Linked DNA regions of Homo sapiens: region 1 is linked to region 2. The links are contacts of gene promoters, found by promoter capture Hi-C in human tissues and cell types (Jung and others, 2019). All regions are on one chromosome and are shown on one strand. Each heading gives the region's core, a stretch centred on a gene start or on the middle of the fragment in contact. The rest is flanking DNA. Distances are from core to core; before and after follow the strand shown.

The links. The method cuts DNA at HindIII sites, captures the fragments that hold promoters and counts their contacts. A contact is called where the count stands out against the background at its distance.
Region 1: a contact is called between a fragment that was not itself captured here and the fragment with the promoter of GPR161 in region 2, in 2 of the 25 tissues and cell types used here (IMR-90 fibroblasts and aorta).

Annotation. Positions count from the first base shown.
Region 1 is chr1:167,756,695-167,760,429 of GRCh38, forward strand. The region is part of intron 1 of MPZL1 (myelin protein zero like 1); the gene reads left to right. Among named protein-coding and RNA genes, the nearest start is that of MPZL1, 37 kb to the left of the region's middle. The HindIII fragment of the contact is 7,982 bases long and covers 1-3,735 here.
Region 2 is chr1:168,135,341-168,138,985 of GRCh38, forward strand. It overlaps GPR161 (G protein-coupled receptor 161), which reads right to left and starts at 1,590. Exons shown (of 6, transcript NM_001375883.1): 1 at 1,399-1,590. RefSeq lists silencers at 1,233-1,462, 1,991-2,285. The HindIII fragment of the contact is 4,691 bases long and covers 41-3,645 here.

The sequences.
Region 1 (3,735 bases), core at 1,151-3,650, 380 kb before region 2:
ATTTATTCATTCATTGATTCACTGATTCATTCATTTTTCCTGACATTCAAACAAATGTTTCTTGAACACATTGTGAAAGGGCCAGGCATTTGTCAGGTAATGAGGGTATAATGGTAAACAAGGTAGACACAGCCCTTTGCCCTCTTGGGGGTGCAGACAGCCGGTCATTTAAGTGGGGTGTGAGGAGAGCATTTACAAGGAAAGGACAGGATGTCGGGGAGCACAGGGTGGGGAGTGTGGGGCAGACGCTAGGAGGAAGTCCCTTGAGATTAAGGCCTGAAGCATAACTTTAGACAAAGAGTGCAGAAGAGTGTGTTCCTGACTAATGAAAAGCTTAGTTTATTAATACTTAGGGCTTGTTGAATGGAGGATACTTTTGCAGCCTTCCCCTACTTTGTGCCATCCAGCCAAGAGAGGTCCACAATAGCAGCCCTGATTCGCGGGAGGAAAGAGCCCACTTCAGCTGCAGGGTGGCCCTGTTCCCAGGAGAGATTTGAGTCTGACCCCACAGTGGCAGCAAGGCAGCTCTGTGCCTGTGTTATCTCCACCAGCACACGTCATTGAGTCAGCTTTACTTTATCCAGCCTGATTGTAGAAGTCATAGTAGACACTGTGAGGGAATCGTGTGGAATTTTCACTGGAGCATTCTGAAACTTAAAAAGTAAATCTTTTATTGCTTTACTAATGTCTTCCTGTGTCTGTCTTTTTAAAAATTTTTATTGTAAAAAGTAAAATATATACCAAAGAGTGTATGTGTGTACAGTTTACACTATCAGTATTAAAATGGGCACCCATGTACTCATGACCAGCCTAGGAAATAAAACATTACCAATAGTGTGTACCTTTCACATCCTGCCTCCTCCACCCTGTCCCAGTTGTAACTACTACCCTGAATTTGTATTTAGTGTTCTCTTTTGTTCCTCTCTTCTAGTATGTTTTAAAAGGTCATATTTATGCTTATTAGGAGATATTACAGTATCAGACTCTTGCTGTGTACCAACAAAGAACAAGAGATAGGTCAGAACGCTGTTTAAATAAATTGCTTGATTGTACTCTTTTAAGCAGGAGTTTATAGTGGTAACATCAAAGTGCTTAAAAAAATTCAAAACAAAAGCCTTTTTCAGTTTCAAGGAAAACCTTAACAAGGTGTGTTAAAAAGATAAGGTTTTTAGAGGTTGGGTGAGGTGGCTCACACCTTTAGTCCCAGCACTTTGGGAGGCCAAGGCAGGTGGATCACTTGAGGTCAGGAGTTCAAGACCAGCCTGACCAACATGGTAAAACCCTGTCTCTACTTAAAAAAAATAGAAAAATTATCTAGGCATGGTGGCACGCCCCTGTGGTCCCAGCTATTCAGGAGGCTGAGGCCAGAGAATCACTTGAACCCAGAAGGTGGAGGTTGCAGTGAGTTGAGATCGCTCCACTGCACTCCAGCCTGGGCAACAGAGCAAGATTCTTGTCTCAAAAAAAAAAAAAAAAGATAAGGTTTTTACAAACCAGTATGCTATAAATGGACCCAGTAGTAACATGACATTGAATTGCTTCAACCAGTAACAGCTTCAAGATCCCTGCCTATGTTCCCTGCTGTGAACGTGTTTATTTGTTCCTAATAATACTGCCACAGTGTATTTCAAATTATTTTATGGTATGAGAGTTTGAATTTACTTGGAGTAAGATCATCTCGGCATGTAGTTGGGAGACATTATTTACTCTATTGTTTCAGTAATTCAGAATATTGAAATAGGTCAGTCATGTCAGGAAATAGACTCTTAGGTGAACCATTCTTGAATTTGCCTTTTTCTTTGTGATTGTGATGGATATTGTTTTGTTTTCTATCTTTGCTTTTTTTTTTCTTTCTGAAATGTTCTGGTTGTCCATCCAAATTGTAAGAATATTACATTTTGAATATCCTTTGATTATTGTAAAAATGACCCCTAGTCAGATGATTCCACAGACTTTTTGATTACTTGTCAAATGACTTTGCGGGCTTTTTTCATTTGAATTGATTTCCTATTTTAAGGGTCAGTGTCACTTCATTGCTAAATGATACCTTTGAGCAACATGGTACATTTTAGAAACCTTATTCTCCAGAGTACTCTAAGAGAAGGGTTGTTTGGATTTTATTTGTTTATATTCTTGCCCTTTAAACTCTAGCATAACTCAGCAGGATTCGGTACTCCTTATAGAACCGTTCCCCAGAGAGAAAGTAAGCTCAGCTCTCATTTCCATGTTGAAGTTTGTATGCAAGTTTACATGGAGCTCAGAATCCAAAGTTGGCAGGATATGAAAATGTTTGTATATCATTTAATCTATTTTATTTCATTTCATTTCTGTGTTTTTATTCCCAAAGCAATTGGTTTTATTCAGGAATCAACAGACTTTTTTAAATCCATCTATAAGTTTTTGAACCAAAGCTTTACTACATTTCACAGCCATTTTTGCCACTATGCCATAATTATAAATCCTTGGCCTCAAAGAAACCTATTTAATATCTTATTCAGATTGAGATTCTAGTCTTCAGTGACATGGAATGTAGATTAGAACAATAGTTTCTGTATATCTCAATGGTCTTTACATTTGCATTTTTAGCCATTTTAACTAGCCCCTAAAAACTCTCTTTTATGACTCTGTGGATGAGCTATCTGAATTCAACAATAATTTTACTATGTATTCCCATAATACTCCTAGTCATTTAAAAAAAGGCAGGGGAATGGACAAAGCAAATCATTCCCAATTGTTTAAGAAACCAGTGAACTCATCCCTTGCTTGGACTGCATAGAATACAGCCTGAGAGGGAAACCTGTGATTTAGTTTCTCTCTTTACCCACACAGGAGAACACTTCTGACAAGATGCCATTCGTGCTCACCGTAGTTGGTCAGAAACTGCGGCTCTGTGCTTGGCAAAAGTTAATTTGGATTTTAGATGCTGTGTGCAAGGAAACCATGTGCAGTTTTAAGCAAGGATCTTCACTGAAATTTCTCGCTGCAATCAACTACGCAGAGTGCCCAGCTCTCAGCATTTGACACAGTTGGCCACTCTTCCCTTGTCTCTCATGGCATCGTGATTTCCTGGGATACCTTTGGTCTCTTTGTCCATAGCATTCTCTATCTGGGGTACACTCACAATAGGCAGAGGAAAAACATGGTAACCAGGGTGGCTGCTGCAACATATTTGAGGGGGTCAGGGTAGGCAATGAGGTCCGAGAGGTAGCCAGGAGTTAGCTCATGTAGGACTTTGTAGGCCACTTGAGGACTGGCCTGATCTGGCTGATGGGAAACCCATAGAGGATTTTGAGTAGAAGAGTGATATGATCCAACCTGAATTTTAATGAGATCTCTTTGGCCTCTCTGTGGACTAGTTGCTGTGAAGTGGGGAAGGCTGAAGGAGGCAGACACCAATTAGGAAGCTATCAATACTTAATCCAGGTGAAAGATGACAGTGGCTTGGACCAAGATGGTGACACCAAATGAGGCAGAGAGAGATCAATTTCTAGATAGGTTTCTTTTGTTTTGTTTTGTTTTGTTTTTTGAGACAGAGTCTCGCTCTGTCACCCCGCCCAGAGTGTAGTGGTGTGATCTCAGCTCACTGCAAGCTCCGCCTCCCGGGTTCACGCCATTCTCCTGCCTCAGCCTTCCGATTAGCTGGTACTACAGGCGCCCGCCACCACACCAGCTAATTCTTTTGTATTTTTAGTAGAGACGGGGTTTCACCATGTTAGCCAGGATGGTCTTGATCTC
Region 2 (3,645 bases), core at 340-2,839:
TTGTGTGAATGAAAAAGTGTACATGAAAGTGCTTGTAAGCACCTGACAAGTATAAAATAAGACGGGTGTGGAGGAGGACCGGAAGAGAGGTGCTCTGAAAGAAGTAACAGAAATGGGTGCCATGCATTCCAGTTACAGTTGAAGAGCCTCTGTCTCTATGACCTGAGGTCCCTCCCACCTCCTCTTTCTGCCCTGAGGGCCTGAAAAATGCCTCTCTTCACTTGCTCCCAGTGGCTGCAGTAAAATAGATTATAAGGGAAAACCGCCTATTCCCCGAAGCAGTAGCTCTCCAGAACTCATCTGGAGGTCCAGGTCACTAGGGGAGAAGAAGCCAGGCTGAATCCACGCCTGGCTCCACGGAGGAGCCACAAGGATGGCCATCCTCCCCCAGCCCCTAGGACGCTGAGACAGGCTCACCGGAGGTTATCGGTGTCTCCATTGGACAATCAAGGAACTGAGGTTCTTTCCCTCCAAAACCACACACCTCCTCACGGCTTCACCGGGAGGTGGATCAAATGACCTGCTCTATGAAAGCACTTTGCAAAAGGGATGAAAGTACAATAACAAGCAAAAATAGCCTCCAAGATGTGATATAAAGCGATGCCAATGCGCAGCTATGTGGTTACTGGTGAGCAGACCTCCGGGAAGCACAGGACACACCCCACTTACCCAACAGACGTTCTCATCCCATATGCCTTTGTCCAAAGGTTGCACGGGGGTTAAGCTTGGCCCAGAAGGCGCCGAGGGCTGGTCGAGTTCTCCCCTTTCCAAGAACCAGCCGAATCTCCCTCCCGCAGATCTGAGGGGCAGAGCCGCCCATCCGGCGGCGCCGGGCCACTTCTGGGCGCGCCACCCGCCGCCCGCCCAGGCTCGGGGAGACAGCGCCCTGAGTCCCGGCTGGGAGAAGGCTGCTCACCTGGTCCTCACGGATTCCAGCCGAGGGGCGTGACCGCTTCTCCCCACACCCTTTGCCCTGAGCGGGACGTGGAGTCTCTTGGCCCCAGGGGGCGCGGCCCGCATCGGCAGAGTCCCGGGCACGCACCTACGCCCTCCCATCCAGCGGACTGTTTAGGGGCTTCGGGCGGCGCCGGAGAAACGGGGCGGGCTGCACCCAGCAGAATGGGGTGGGCCTCTCAGAAGCCCCAGGCCGCAGGGGAGGGGCGCGCCCCCAACATCTTCCCACAAAGAGCTCCAGCTCTCCAAAGCAAGGCGCAGTGCGGGCGGAGGACAGCCCTGACCTCCGAGAGGGGCGCGGGGAGAAAGGGAGCGCCGTGGGGGCGGGGACCCTTCCCGGCCCGCGCCCTGAGCCCTCAGCCTCGCACAATGAGTTTAGCCTGGCTCCATCCGGACCGCCCTCTCCGCCCGGGCCCGCGCCCGCGCCCCACGCCGGGTGCTCACCGAGGAGCGGCCGCCGCGGCAGCTCAGGCCCCGGCCCAGCCGCCTCCCCGCCTCGGCCACCGCCGCCGCCGCTTCCTTCCTCCCCGCCGCGCTCCGGGACTGGAGGTTTCGGGTTTCAGCCCACCGAGCCCCGCTTCGCTCCTCCCGCGGGCCAGCCACCAGCACGCGGACCCGGGCGGGCGCAGGCCAAGTAACTTTGCGGCGCCCGCGCCCCGCCCCGCCCCCCCCACGCCCGGCCGGGCCCCTCCGGCCCCCGGAGCCCCGAGCCGCCTCCCCGCGCCCCGCACTGCCCCGCCCCGCCCAGCTCCCGGCGCCCCTCCCCACCCGCGCCCCTTCCTTCGCGTCCGTCCGCCCGCCCTCCCGGCTGCTTCTTTCCCATTTCTTCCCACGAACAGCCTCGGCTGCTGCTCTTTGTCTCGCCCTTACCCTCTCGGCTCGCCCCACTTTTCTCCTGAAAACCTTTGTGGTGCCTAACTCAGGCCTTCCCTGTTCCCGTTCCTCCGCCCCAGTTCCAGCCGCTGGGACGTCGCCTTTTCCATGTCTCTCTCCATCACACAGACACTTTCAGATTCTTCCCGCAGGCTCCGCACAGTCCCATTCTCCTCCTCCAGTCCCGCCGTGGACGATCCTGGTATCGCCTTTGCTGCTCACCTTTCATTCATCCAGCCGACGGGCACGAGCATCCATCTGCCTTCTGCCAGGCTCTGTCCCGGGCTCTGTTAATACCACAGTGAATTCGTCCCGAAGCCAGCCCCGGGGAGTGGGGAGTGGACGTAAACAGGTCTTCACACTGCTGCCCTGCACTCCCTCGGAACCAAAAGGCCAGGGAGCAGTCATCACAAAACAAAGAGCGGGCGCTGTCAGCTCGGGGGACGGAACAGTTCCTTCTCAGAATGTTTGTTTTCCCTTCCTCACTCCCCACTTTGCCTGCCTGTCTCCAGACTCCTACGTTTTCTATGCAGCAGTCTTAATAAGGGGATGAAAAGTTGAAGCACAGAGTAGAACTGCTAAAAAGGGAAAGAAGGAAGGACAAACAGGGCAGCAAAATAATCAGGTAAGAAGTTACAAAGCCCAGTTCACTAAACTCCAGAAAAAAAAAAACAAACCCTGATGCTGTGCTTAGAGCAGGATTCACATTCCTCTGAAATCCATCTGCTTTGATAAATACATTAATTATTCCCTTGTCTACAGATTGACACTGTGGGAGATGCTTCCTTAATATTATTGGGCCACTGAGGCACAATTTAGAACAGTAATTTACTGTCTGGCACCTGCCAAACACCCACATTGCTCTGGGGACAAATGGGATAATGGGGAGAAAAAAGTAAATGGGTGCCTTAATATTCCTATGGGATAAATGCTTTATTTGGTCAAAAACTGGAAGCTGACGCTCCACTTAAGAGTCTAGGTCACGCGGCAAGCCAGACACTTGAAGGAGCTTAAAGCTTTCTGTTCTTAATAGTATTTTAGACACTTATTTTGAAATCCCTGATATTTATTTAATTTACACTGACTCAGATGTCGGCTAAGCTCTATGAGCCTGAGGGAGTGAGTTAACCTTCCTCTCAGCTTATTCATATATAAAATGGGGATACTCATACTTTCCTATCTGTAGAGTTGAAAAGGTTAAATGAGGTCATGTAAGTAAATCATCCAGTGACATAGAATCTGAGAACTAAACCCTTTTGAAAATTGGTATTCACGAAAGGTCTGAAAATATATGCCACAGACTGGCATGGTGAGAATGAGAATAAAAAATAAACAGTTACGGCTGTTGTGGCTCCATACCCATCCATGATGCGAAAGATGTCCTTCATACTGAGCAACCTTTTCCCATACTTACTCTATTTCATTTTGAACTCTTCAACAGAAAACACTTTTTTTCTCCTGCTGCTCATTATCAAATGCATTATTTATCACAAAGATTTTTCTTTTTTCTGAGCTCATAAGCTCAGAACTTACTGTGCATTCAGGGATGGAAATTGCTGCCAACAAATGCATTTTCAATTGCTCTCTTAAGATTTTTTTCCCTTCTGGAGCTAATATTGAGCTATGAGCAGAATTCAATCAGATGCAGAGAAAACAGACAAATTATTATTAAAGTAATTATTTCACCGTATATCATTGTATAGGTGACAATTGTGAAAAACGTGACTGATTTTGTGCAAGAATGTATTTATATTTTTTTAGAAAAAGAGAAAGATACACACTAATTCTCCTTTCCCAAATTAGTTTAATAAACCATTC